3 separate regions of the Homo sapiens genome follow, and all the other regions are linked to region 2. Evidence: promoter capture Hi-C in human tissues and cell types (Jung and others, 2019). All regions are on one chromosome and are shown on one strand. Each heading gives the region's core, a stretch centred on a gene start or on the middle of the fragment in contact. The rest is flanking DNA. Distances are from core to core; before and after follow the strand shown.

The links. The method cuts DNA at HindIII sites, captures the fragments that hold promoters and counts their contacts. A contact is called where the count stands out against the background at its distance.
Region 1: a contact is called between a fragment that was not itself captured here and the fragment with the promoter of SPNS2 in region 2, in 3 of the 25 tissues and cell types used here (dorsolateral prefrontal cortex, mesenchymal stem cells and spleen).
Region 3: a fragment that was not itself captured here is called in contact with the fragment with the promoter of SPNS2 in region 2 in 5 of the 25 tissues and cell types used here (adrenal gland, dorsolateral prefrontal cortex, heart right ventricle and 2 more).

What each region holds. Positions count from the first base shown.
Region 1 is chr17:4,222,266-4,225,721 of GRCh38, forward strand. All of the region lies in intron 3 of ANKFY1 (ankyrin repeat and FYVE domain containing 1), which reads right to left. It also overlaps the pseudogene RYKP1. Among named protein-coding and RNA genes, the nearest start is that of ANKFY1, 40 kb to the right of the region's middle. The HindIII fragment of the contact is 4,884 bases long and covers 1-3,456 here.
Region 2 is chr17:4,497,631-4,500,848 of GRCh38, forward strand. SPNS2 (SPNS lysolipid transporter 2, sphingosine-1-phosphate) reads left to right here and starts at 1,251. Exons shown (of 13, transcript NM_001124758.3): 1 at 1,251-1,787. The coding sequence starts at 1,418. SPNS2-AS1 (SPNS2 antisense RNA 1) reads right to left here and starts at 1,105. Exons shown (of 3, transcript XR_001752763.2): 1 at 521-1,105; 2 at 1-85. RefSeq lists silencers at 1,044-1,103, 1,114-1,263, 1,324-1,373 and enhancers at 1,415-2,050, 2,051-2,685. The HindIII fragment of the contact is 11,191 bases long and covers 229-3,218 here.
Region 3 is chr17:4,204,003-4,207,538 of GRCh38, forward strand. It overlaps ANKFY1 (ankyrin repeat and FYVE domain containing 1), which reads right to left. Exons shown (of 25, transcript NM_001330063.2): 7 at 2,319-2,484. Among named protein-coding and RNA genes, the nearest start is that of ANKFY1, 58 kb to the right of the region's middle. RefSeq lists a silencer at 3,048-3,248. The HindIII fragment of the contact is 7,321 bases long and covers 1-3,536 here.

The DNA of each region.
Region 1 (3,456 bases), core at 816-3,315, 270 kb before region 2:
GCGTGAGCCTCTACCTGAGTGAGGATGAGGTGCACCGGCTGATCGGTCTTGATGCAGAACTTTATTATGTGACAAATGACCTTATTATTCACTACGCTCTGTCCTTTAATCTGTTAGTACCCAGTGAGACAAATTTCCTGCACTTCACCTGGCATTCGAAGTCCAAGGTTGAATGTAAGCTGGGATTCCAAGCGGACAATGTTTTGGCAATGGACCTGCCCCAGGGCAACATTTCTGTTCAGGGAGAAGTTCTACGCACTTTATCAGTATTTCGGGTAGAGCTTTCCTGTACTGGCAAAGTAGATTCTGAAGTTATGATACTAATGCAGCTCAACTTGACAGTCAATTCTTCAAAGAATTTTACCGTCTTAAATTTTAAACCAAGGAAAATGTGCACCAAAAATGGCCCTGACACGCAGCTCCAACCACTTCTACGCGTGTTTTATATTAGGGTAGGGTTTCTTGTGCAGTAATATTTCTCGTAGCAATAATATTAGCTGTTTTGCACCTTCATAGTATGAAAAGGGTTGAACTGGATGACAGCATTAGTGCCAGCAGGAGTTCCCAAGGGTTGTCTCAGCCATCCACCCAGACGACTCAGTATCCGAGAGCTGACACACCCAACAATCCAACTCCTATCACCAGCTCCTCAGGTTATCCTACCTTGCGGATAGAGAAGAACGACTTGAGAAGTGTCACTCTTTTGGAGGCCAAAGCCAAGGTGAAGGATATAGCAATATCCAGGGACAGGATAACTCTAATAAAAGATGTACTCCAAGAAGGTACTCTTGGGCATATTTTCCATGGGATTTTAATAGATAAAAAAGATCCAAATAAAGAAAAACAAGCATTGGTCGAAACAAAGATCAAGCTTCTGAAATTCAGGTGACAATGATGCTCACTGAAAGTCGTAAGCTGCAAAGTCTTCATCACAGAAATCTTCTTCCTATTACTCATGGGTGTATACGAGAAAAGCCCATGGTGACACTGCCTTACATGAACTGAGGGAATCTTCACTTGTTTTTACGGCAGTGCAAGTTAGTAGAGGCCAATAATCCACAGGCAATTTCTCAACAAGACCTGGTACACATGGCTATTCAGATTGCCTGTGGAATGAGCTACCTGGCCAGAACGGAAGTCATCCACAAAGACCTGGCTGCTAGGAACTGTATCACTGATGACACACTTCAAGTTAAGATCACAGACAATGCCGTCTCATGGACTATCACTGTCTGGGGGACAATGAAAACAGGCCAGTTTGTTGGATGGCTCTTGAAAGTCTGGTTAATAACGAGTTTTCTAGCACTAGTGATGTGTGGGGCCTTTGGAGTGATGCTGTGGGAACTCATGACTCTGGGCCAGACGCCCTACATGGACACTGACCCCTTCGAGATGGCCGCATACCTGAAAGATGGTTACCGAATAGCCCAGCCAATCAACTGTCCTGATGAACCATTTGCTGTGATGGCCTGTTGCTGGGCCTTAGATCCGGGGGAGAGGCCCAAGTTTCAGCAGCTGGTACAGTGTCTCACAGTTTCATGCAGGCCTGGGGGCCTACGTCTGACTCTTCTCTCGCAATCCCACAGCATCAGGAGAAAGGTGCCTGTCATGGATGCTTTGTATCTAACACCACGCCAACAGAAGCACATTTGTCTTCCAGAACACTGTGCCTCAGCAATGCTTTAGAATCTGAACTTTTTAAGACAGACTTAATAATGTGGCATATTTTCTAGATATCACTTTTATTAGGTTGAACTGAAAGGGTTTTTGTAAATTTTTTGGCCAAAATTTTTTAAAACATAGTTACCTTGGACTAGAGGTACATTGTTACAAAATGAACAGTTTTTAAAATTGTTCAGACACAGATATTTGGAAGTAGCTATCTTAGTGCCAACTGCTTTTTATTTTTTTTACTTCATCAAGGTGATGTAAGTGACTCACCTTTGAAGTTTTTTTTTTTTTTTTTTTTTTTTTTTTGAGACGGAGTCTCGCTGTCGCCCAGGCTGGAGTGCAGTGGCGCGATCTCGGCTCACTGCAGGCTCTGCCCCCGGGGTTCACGCCATTCTCCCGCCTCAGCCTCCTGAGAAGCTGGGACTACAGGTGCGCACCACCACGCCCGACTAATTTTTTGTATTTTTAGTAGAGACGGGGTTTCACTGCGTTAGCCAGGATGGTGAAGTTTTTTTAATGTTATTTTTTATCACTACTCTTGGAAATGGCCTGTCTTCAAGATGCAATACTTTTCTTAGGAAAGGAAAAACAGCATAAAAAGATACCTGGTTTGTCTTGTACAAGAAAAGGCAATATGAGAGGAAGAAAATTTAAAGAAAAGCTAGAGGAAAAAAAATTTTTTTTAATACTTATTAGAAGCAAACTGCCCTTGCATGGAAAACTGTTTGTTTGTTTTTTTTTAGTGAAAAGGAATTCTGCTTTCGTGTTTTTGGGAAAGCAGGAACTGAGTTCATTGCATCTTTAATTTGGTGGAAATTAGCTTTTCTGTGAACCAGAAGTGGTTTGAGGCAGATCTGTAGTAAATAATGGTGATTTTATTTATTTTTACTCTCTGGAAAAGGAGACAATACAATTCCAGAAAGTGGACTCATATTTCTAAGGTTAAGATTCCCGTTTATTGCACCTAGAATAGTGCTATGCACAGAGTGGGTGCTTGAGTTGTCGTTTTTTTTTTTTTTTTAAATAAACTGGTAAATTTTGTGCTTATCTTCAAGGCTGGCTTAAGTATAAACTTGTTTTTTTAAACACTTGAAAAATTAAAGGATTTGTTTTATATTTAAAAAAAAAAACTTTTTAGGCTGGGTGTGGTGGCTCACACCTGTAATCCCAGAACTCTGGGAGGCCGAGGCAGGCGGATCACTTGAGGTCAGGAGTTTGAAACCAGCCTGGCCAATTATGGCAAAACCCCCTCTCTACTAAAATTACAAAAAGTAGCCGAGCGTAGTGGTGCATGCCTGTAATCCCAGCTACTCGGGAGGCTGAGGTAGGAGAATCTCTTGAAGCCGGGAGGCAGAGGTTGCAGTGACCCAAGATCACATCAGTGCACTCTAGCCTGGGGGACAGAGCGAGATTCTGTCTCAAAAAGAAAAGTTTTTGCTTCATAGAATTAAAAAATCTTGGTAGACAGTATCATTTTTATCAATAAATAACATCCTCTTTAGTCAATTTAAGGATGTATCCTTAAATATAACCTCCTGGAAATAAAATTAAACCTCAAACCATATTTCTAAATAATCTCTGGGTCAAAATGAAATAAAAGGACAGAGGTTCTAGTTCTGTTATGGCAGTGGAACAACCCATCCCATTTTAACTGATTATAGCTAAAAATTCTGGACAGAGTACAAAACAACAACGACCTAAAGATTTGGAAAAGTCAACAAAAGCAGCTGAACTGAGAGGGAGGCGAAACTTGAAGCAGCAACTGCACTGGATGAGTTTCCCCGT
Region 2 (3,218 bases), core at 1-2,500:
TGATGCCAGAGCCTGGGGCAGCTCCAGCCCTGCCACAGCTTCACTGCCTGTTCGTAATGGGTCACGTCCGTGCCCTGGGACTTGTCTGTGAAACACAGGGAATGATTAACTGGTTTCCGAGGGTTTGTCCAGTTCTAACATTCTGTCCTCTGCACTTTATACAGGATTTTAATTTCGATTTTAATTCCCCAAACAGGTGAATGGGGGAGGGAAGGGGGAGATCGTCACAGAGCCACAGCACCTCTAAGGAGGGGTGAAACCGTGATGGGATGTCAGGAACACAGAAGCACCCCAACCACTCTCCATAGGAGGCAGACCCCCGCCCCGTCCCACCAAGGGGAGGTGACCACCCGTGGATTTCCAGACTGAATCCCATCCTGCCATCTGCCCCCAGATACAGAAATGGAGGCCCAGAGAGTGGGTGTCATGTTCAGGATCATGCCACACACCAGGGCAGAGCTGAGCTAGGACCCAGCCTCCTGTCTGCCACTGGGGGCTTTGTACCCTCTCTAGCACATACCTGGAAGTCTGAAGCTTGGAGATGTGGTCCCTCAGGAGGGAAAGCCCCTTCTGAATATCCTGTTTCTGTTGGGCCCCAATCACAGCCCTTGCTCTCCCCGCCAGGGGCTGCGGGCCACTCTGTGGGGCAAGGGTAGGGTCCGGGTGCCCACACAGGAATGGGCCCGGGGTAGGTTGGGGGCTGGATCTGGGTTGCCCTGGGGAGGTGGGAGACACAGCCCACCATGACTGGTGGAGGTCTAGGTTCTGGGCCCTCCCTGAACTGGTTAAATCCGGGCGTGTGAGTATCGGAGGAGCCACCGGCTCTCCAACTGGCGCCCCTGACTTTAGCCATCTGAGACTCCTCTCTCCAGTTCTCCCAGATACGCTAGGCTCAAGCCCTCAGCCCGGCTCCCAGAGCCTCCGCCGGGAGTCCACGCCCGAGGCAGGGGTTGGGTGAAGGGTACTGAGTAGGTGCTGGGAGCCCCGTCACCAGCACCCTGCTCCCAGCTCCGTAGCCAGAGCAAACCCTCTCCCGCTCCCCGCGGGCGTTCGCGGCCGGTCGGCCCCGGCGTGACTGCGCCCCCATTGGCAGGAGGGGCTCTGCCGCCCGGGCCCCCAGTCCCCGGGCCCCCCACCCCCAGGGCAGCACGTGCGGGGCGGGGCTGTGGCCCGAGCCCGGAGCTGATTGGGCGCGGGCCTGGTGGGCGGGGCCGGGCCGCAGCTGTCAGAGCCGCGGCGGCGAACGAGGCGCAGCGAGCTGAGCGGTGGCAGCGCCGCAGCCGGGGCCGGAGCGCAGGAGCCGACGGGGCCCGACCAGGATGGTGCAGTGGCGGCTCCGCGGCGCACGCACGCGCTGAGCGGGCCCAGCCTGGGCCCCGCGCCCCCCGCGCCCCCCGCCGCCCCGATCCGGGCCGGCATGATGTGCCTGGAATGCGCCTCGGCGGCGGCGGGCGGCGCGGAGGAGGAGGAGGCGGACGCGGAGCGGCGGCGCCGGCGCCGGGGGGCGCAGCGAGGGGCTGGCGGTAGCGGTTGCTGCGGGGCGCGGGGCGCGGGCGGCGCTGGAGTCTCGGCCGCGGGCGATGAGGTGCAGACGCTGTCGGGCAGCGTAAGGCGGGCCCCGACCGGACCCCCCGGCACCCCCGGCACCCCCGGCTGCGCAGCTACTGCAAAGGGCCCCGGCGCTCAGCAGCCCAAACCGGCCAGCTTGGGCCGCGGGCGGGGGGCAGCCGCCGCCATCCTCAGCTTGGGCAACGTGCTCAACTACCTGGACAGGTACACCGTGGCAGGTGAGCGAGTGCCCCACCCAGCCCGAGGACCAAGACCCCACCCCATCCCACCACCCGCCTCGAGGGAGGTACCCCAGAGAGCTTTTGGTCTCAGGCCTGCTATCTCCAGGCCCTACGTGAGGTCCCTACGGACCCTCTGCTCAGGCACAACTGGGCAAGGGATGCCTCCGTGCACCACGGGTACAATCCAGCTCCCCGCTCATACACACCCGGGGCCAAGGGATAGAGGAGTCCCCACCCCTGGAGCAGCCCGCGCGTCCTCTCCAGCCCTTGACGGCCCATCCGTTGTCCTCCTCTCCAAGAGTCTCCTCTGCGTCTCTCTGTCTCCTTGTCTCTGCGCCCCCTCCGACCCCAGCTGCCGGTTCCCGGGCCTCCTTCCCTTCCCTTCCCCCAGCCCAGGTCGTCTGTCCGTCCATGGCCCGTCAGTTCCTTCCTTTCTCCGCCGCCTCCACCCCCCTGCGTGCGTGCGGCGAGTGCGCGCGCCCCTTGCGGGTGTGCGCTAGGGAGACCGGGTGTGTGTGCGCGTGGCGGCGCGGTTGTGTGTGAGCGCGTGGCTGACAAAGGCTCCGGGCTGCGGGGAGCGGAGGGAGGGGCGGGGCGGGTCCGCGGCGCCTGGGGACCCAGGCTGCGGTTTGCAGCTGGCCCTGTACAGAGGCCTGGAGACGCCTCCCCCTGCTCTATGGTGCTTGGGGTGTAGGGTAGGGCGCAGGCCTCTGGAGCTAGAGACGTGGAGCCTCATCCTCAGGGAGCATCTCTGGGAATCAGCCTTGGGGACGGGATTGGGATCGATAGAACAACTGGGTTCTAGCCCCAGCTTTGCTCCTAATGTGCTTGGTGTGTGACCTTGGGCCAGTCTCAGCGTGTGTTTAGGTCTGTTTGCCCGTTTGTGAGTTGATTGATCATTGGGCCTTTGGGGGACGCACGTGGTTCTGGAATTGCCTTCTGCTGGCTCCCTTCCCCAGCAATTAGGGGTGGGTCTAGGGGTAAGAATTTGCCCTAGACTGAGCTGCTACTGGTTGGGAATGGTGGAGCTTTGAGAGGGAAGGACTTTGGCCAGACTGGCATAGGAAGGGGCTCCCTGCAGGAGGAGAGCAGTACTGTGTGCCTGGCATGCTGGCCCAGAACCTGCGTAACTATAGCTTAGTAAAATCTGGAGCTATCAAACACACACACAACAGAGAGAGAGAGGAGATAGGAGAGAGGGAAGGATTTATTTTTGGACAGACTCTAAAGAGAACTTTGCGGCAATTGAGGGAAGAGAGCCCGGGCATAAACCACATGCCACCTGGTGCCTTCTCTGGGCCTCAGTCTCCCCGTCTGTTGAATGGAGTTTTGTGTCAAATGGAAGGGAAGAATTCTGATGGGAGGGCAGAGGCTTCCCCCTCCCCCCATTCCTGCTTTCAACCCCCCTTGGCTCTCTGTCCTTCCGCT
Region 3 (3,536 bases), core at 321-2,820, 290 kb before region 2:
TGGACTCCCCCAAGACACTGCCTGCCTGTTCCACTCTTTAGATAAAATGACTGGTATACTTGGTTATTAGGATGATCACTGACTATTTTGTTGACAGATTCTAATGTGTGCTCAGACTAAACCAAAATCTCATATATTAAAGACTTTCACTCTTTAACAGTTAAAGTGAAAAAAACTCCTACAGGAACTGGACCTGGTTATGGCATTTCCAACGCAGGGGCAAGCGATGAATGGCAGGGTTGACCCCACCATTCCCCTGGTAATCACTGCTGGGTGTACTACTAACATTGCCTCGCATTCTCTGAACAAACCAATAAAGCAAAAGTAATTCCCACTTTATGGATAAGGAAGACGTAGAATGTGACTTGTCCAAGGCCACAGAGTAAACAGATGAGCTCAGATTCAAACCTTGGTGAATACCAGCTTCATAAAGCCAGTGCTCTGTCTACCGTAATATGCAACACTCTAAAGTTAGCAAAATCAAGTTTATTATACCCACGCTGTAATCCACATACTTGCAAGCAATTAATAAACTCAGAGTGGAAGGTTAAATCATCTGAAAATAAACATCAAAAATGTATCACTAATTCTTGGCAATTCTTGTATCTAAGCAATCACCAAAATATTTAATAACTCAAAGATGATTTATCATCAAACATAAGAATTAACTCCCTGGGAGGAAAGAAACAAAATTCTCAGATTTTTTTTTTTTAGTAACAGGGTATCTGTTTCCAAAATAAACATCTCAGACACGAAACAGTGTGGGAAAGAATCATTCCCTACGTGGTGGAGATTTCCCCACTGAATCACACTCAGTGCTAAGCACCCGCTGGCTTTGCACAGCACATAACGGTGCTTGAGGAAGATGCATCTGCTCTTGACACTGACATACTCGAAGGATTTCCTACCCAGTGATGAGCAAAATTTTCCTCTCTACCAGCCAGCAAGCTCAGCACTCCAGCACATGGCTTATAAGGATACTTGTATTAAAACCTTGGCCCAAAAAGGACAAAGCTGGCACAGGACCACATCTTGATGTAACTACATTCCACCAACTAGGAGCAATTTGTGAATGGCAAAAATGTAGCACAGACAATAATAGTATAACAATGCATCATCAAAAGGGGAAAATATAGATGATTAAGATGGAACGAAACAAGTAGATTCTCTCTTTGATGTCTACGTGTAAGTAAAAAAAAGTGGCCATGGCAATGCACTTCAATCAAGTCAACCATCCCTCCACAAAACTAACGCTTTGACACTTTGGAAAGCTTTCATTTCTCACTGGAACTCTACCTCTATACAGATTTCACTCTGTCTAAAATGACCATTGCAAAGCAAAATCAGCCCAGATCCATTTGGGACTCATGAATTAGTAAGACTATGGAAAAAAACAAACAAAAACCTAGTATTTTTTTTTTCCTTTGACAAGTTAATTCATTAAGATTAAAATGTTCTGGGAGGACGCGGTGGCTCACGCCTCTAATCCCAGCACTTTGGGAGGCCAAGGTGGGTGGATCACCAGGTCAGGAGATCGAGACCATCCTGGCTAACACGGTGACACCCCGTCTCTACTAAAAATACAAAAAATTAGCTGGGCGTGGTGGTGGGCACCTGTAGTCCCAGCTACTGGGGAGGCTGAGGCAGGAGAATGGCATGAACCCAGGAGGCGGAGCTTGCCGTGAGCCAAGATCGCACCACTGCACTCCAGCCTGGGCGACAGAACAAGACTCCGTCTCAAAAAAAAAAAAAGATTTAAATGTTTTGTTCTCAAGTCTATCATTTCTGTATTCTTCCAACTATTAACAATGCATTCAAAATATAGCTACAATTTCAAATAACTCTGCTAGAACAAAATGAAACTCTATCAATTTATCATAATAGAGGCCTAGCCTGTTAAAGTGAAAACCCTGAAGCTAAGAACACGTTTCAAGGTTTATGGTTTTGCTACTATCCTTGTATCTGTGGTAGAATACAAAAGCAAAACCTTCCTAGCACAATTCCTGGAGAAAGCCATCCATTGAACAAGCAAACATATCAAGTGCTTACAAGTAAAAGGTACTTCTTCACACAAGTACCATCTTTGTAGCCTTTCTTTCTGGGGCCCTGTTGGCACGGTGAATGGCCAAACTAACACGGCATAGGCAACAGCTCTTGAGTGCTTCCTCTGACCCAATGATCAAATTCTAGATCATGTAGCCTGTGAGTACAGACTACAGAAGCCTTTGAGAATTTTGGGAACAAGGTCAGAAAGTCTTCAAAAATTACTCGGATAAAAATAAAATTGCCTGCAGGGAAACATACACACTTCTTCCTACCTCTTTGGATTCCTTTGTGTAACAAGCTCCAGCCACTCTTGTCCACCATGTCCACATCAGCTTTGTGACTAACCAGCGTGGTGGCAATACTCTCCAGTCGTCGTGAGAGGGCTAGATCTAATGCCAGATCTCCGTTATGATCCGCTTCATTCAGCTTCCCAGGGAGCTACACAAACAAGTTTGTAAATTAGCGCCCAGTGAGTAGAGAATACGACCTATTTTAATTTCTCCCACCTTGACCCTTAAATATCATCTCTTATACAAATGTCAAATTTAAGTGCTCCAACACTGCTTACTCCCCAAATTCAACTTTATTCACAAACTTCTATCAGGCTTCCTCAGGGTACATGTTTTCAGGGAGTACAGAATTAATGGGGACCACATAGCCAACATAAACAATGTGGGAGACGATTAAAGGCCACCAGGAAAATGTGGACAGAGTGCTGTGGGGCACGAGTGCCAGGCAGAGGCTCAGAGAGTTTTACGGTGAACAGCTAATGTTTTCATGAAAGGCAGTGGCGTTCCTATTTCATTCTTCCCAGCAGTTTAATGTCTCCCCATACACTGGACACCCGGGATAAAACATACTTCGCTCCCATCTGTCAAGAGCCATTACATTTCTTTCAAGGTCATATGGTGGGCAGAATTATCACCCCCCCCAAAGACGGACATGTCCTAATCCCCAGAACCTATAAACATACCACGTTACATGGCAAAAGGCACTTTGAGGATGTGATTAAGGACCTTGTGATGGGGACAGTATCCCAGATTATCCAGGAGGCCCGACCTATCTAACCACAGAGGGCCCGACCCATCTAACCACAGAGGGCCCGACCCGTCTAACCACAGAGGGCCCGATCTATCTAACCACAGAGGGCCCGATCTATCTAACCACAGAGGGCCCGATCTATCTAACCACACAAGTCCTTCAAAGTGAAAAAGGGAACCAGAAGAGTAAGTCAGAGAGATGTGACATGAGAAGCACCTGACCCACCACTGCTGGCTTTTAAGACAAAAGCCGGGGGCTATGAGCTAAGGAATGTGTGGAGGGCTCTAGAAGGTGGGAATGGCCCTCGGCTGACAGCCAGCAAGAAAATGGGGACCTCGATCCTGTAAGTGCAAGAATCTGAATTCTGCCAAAGATCCAAATAAGCAGGAAATGGATTCTCCTCTTGAGTCTCTGGAAAGAAGCACAGCCTGCCGACATCCTGATTTTGG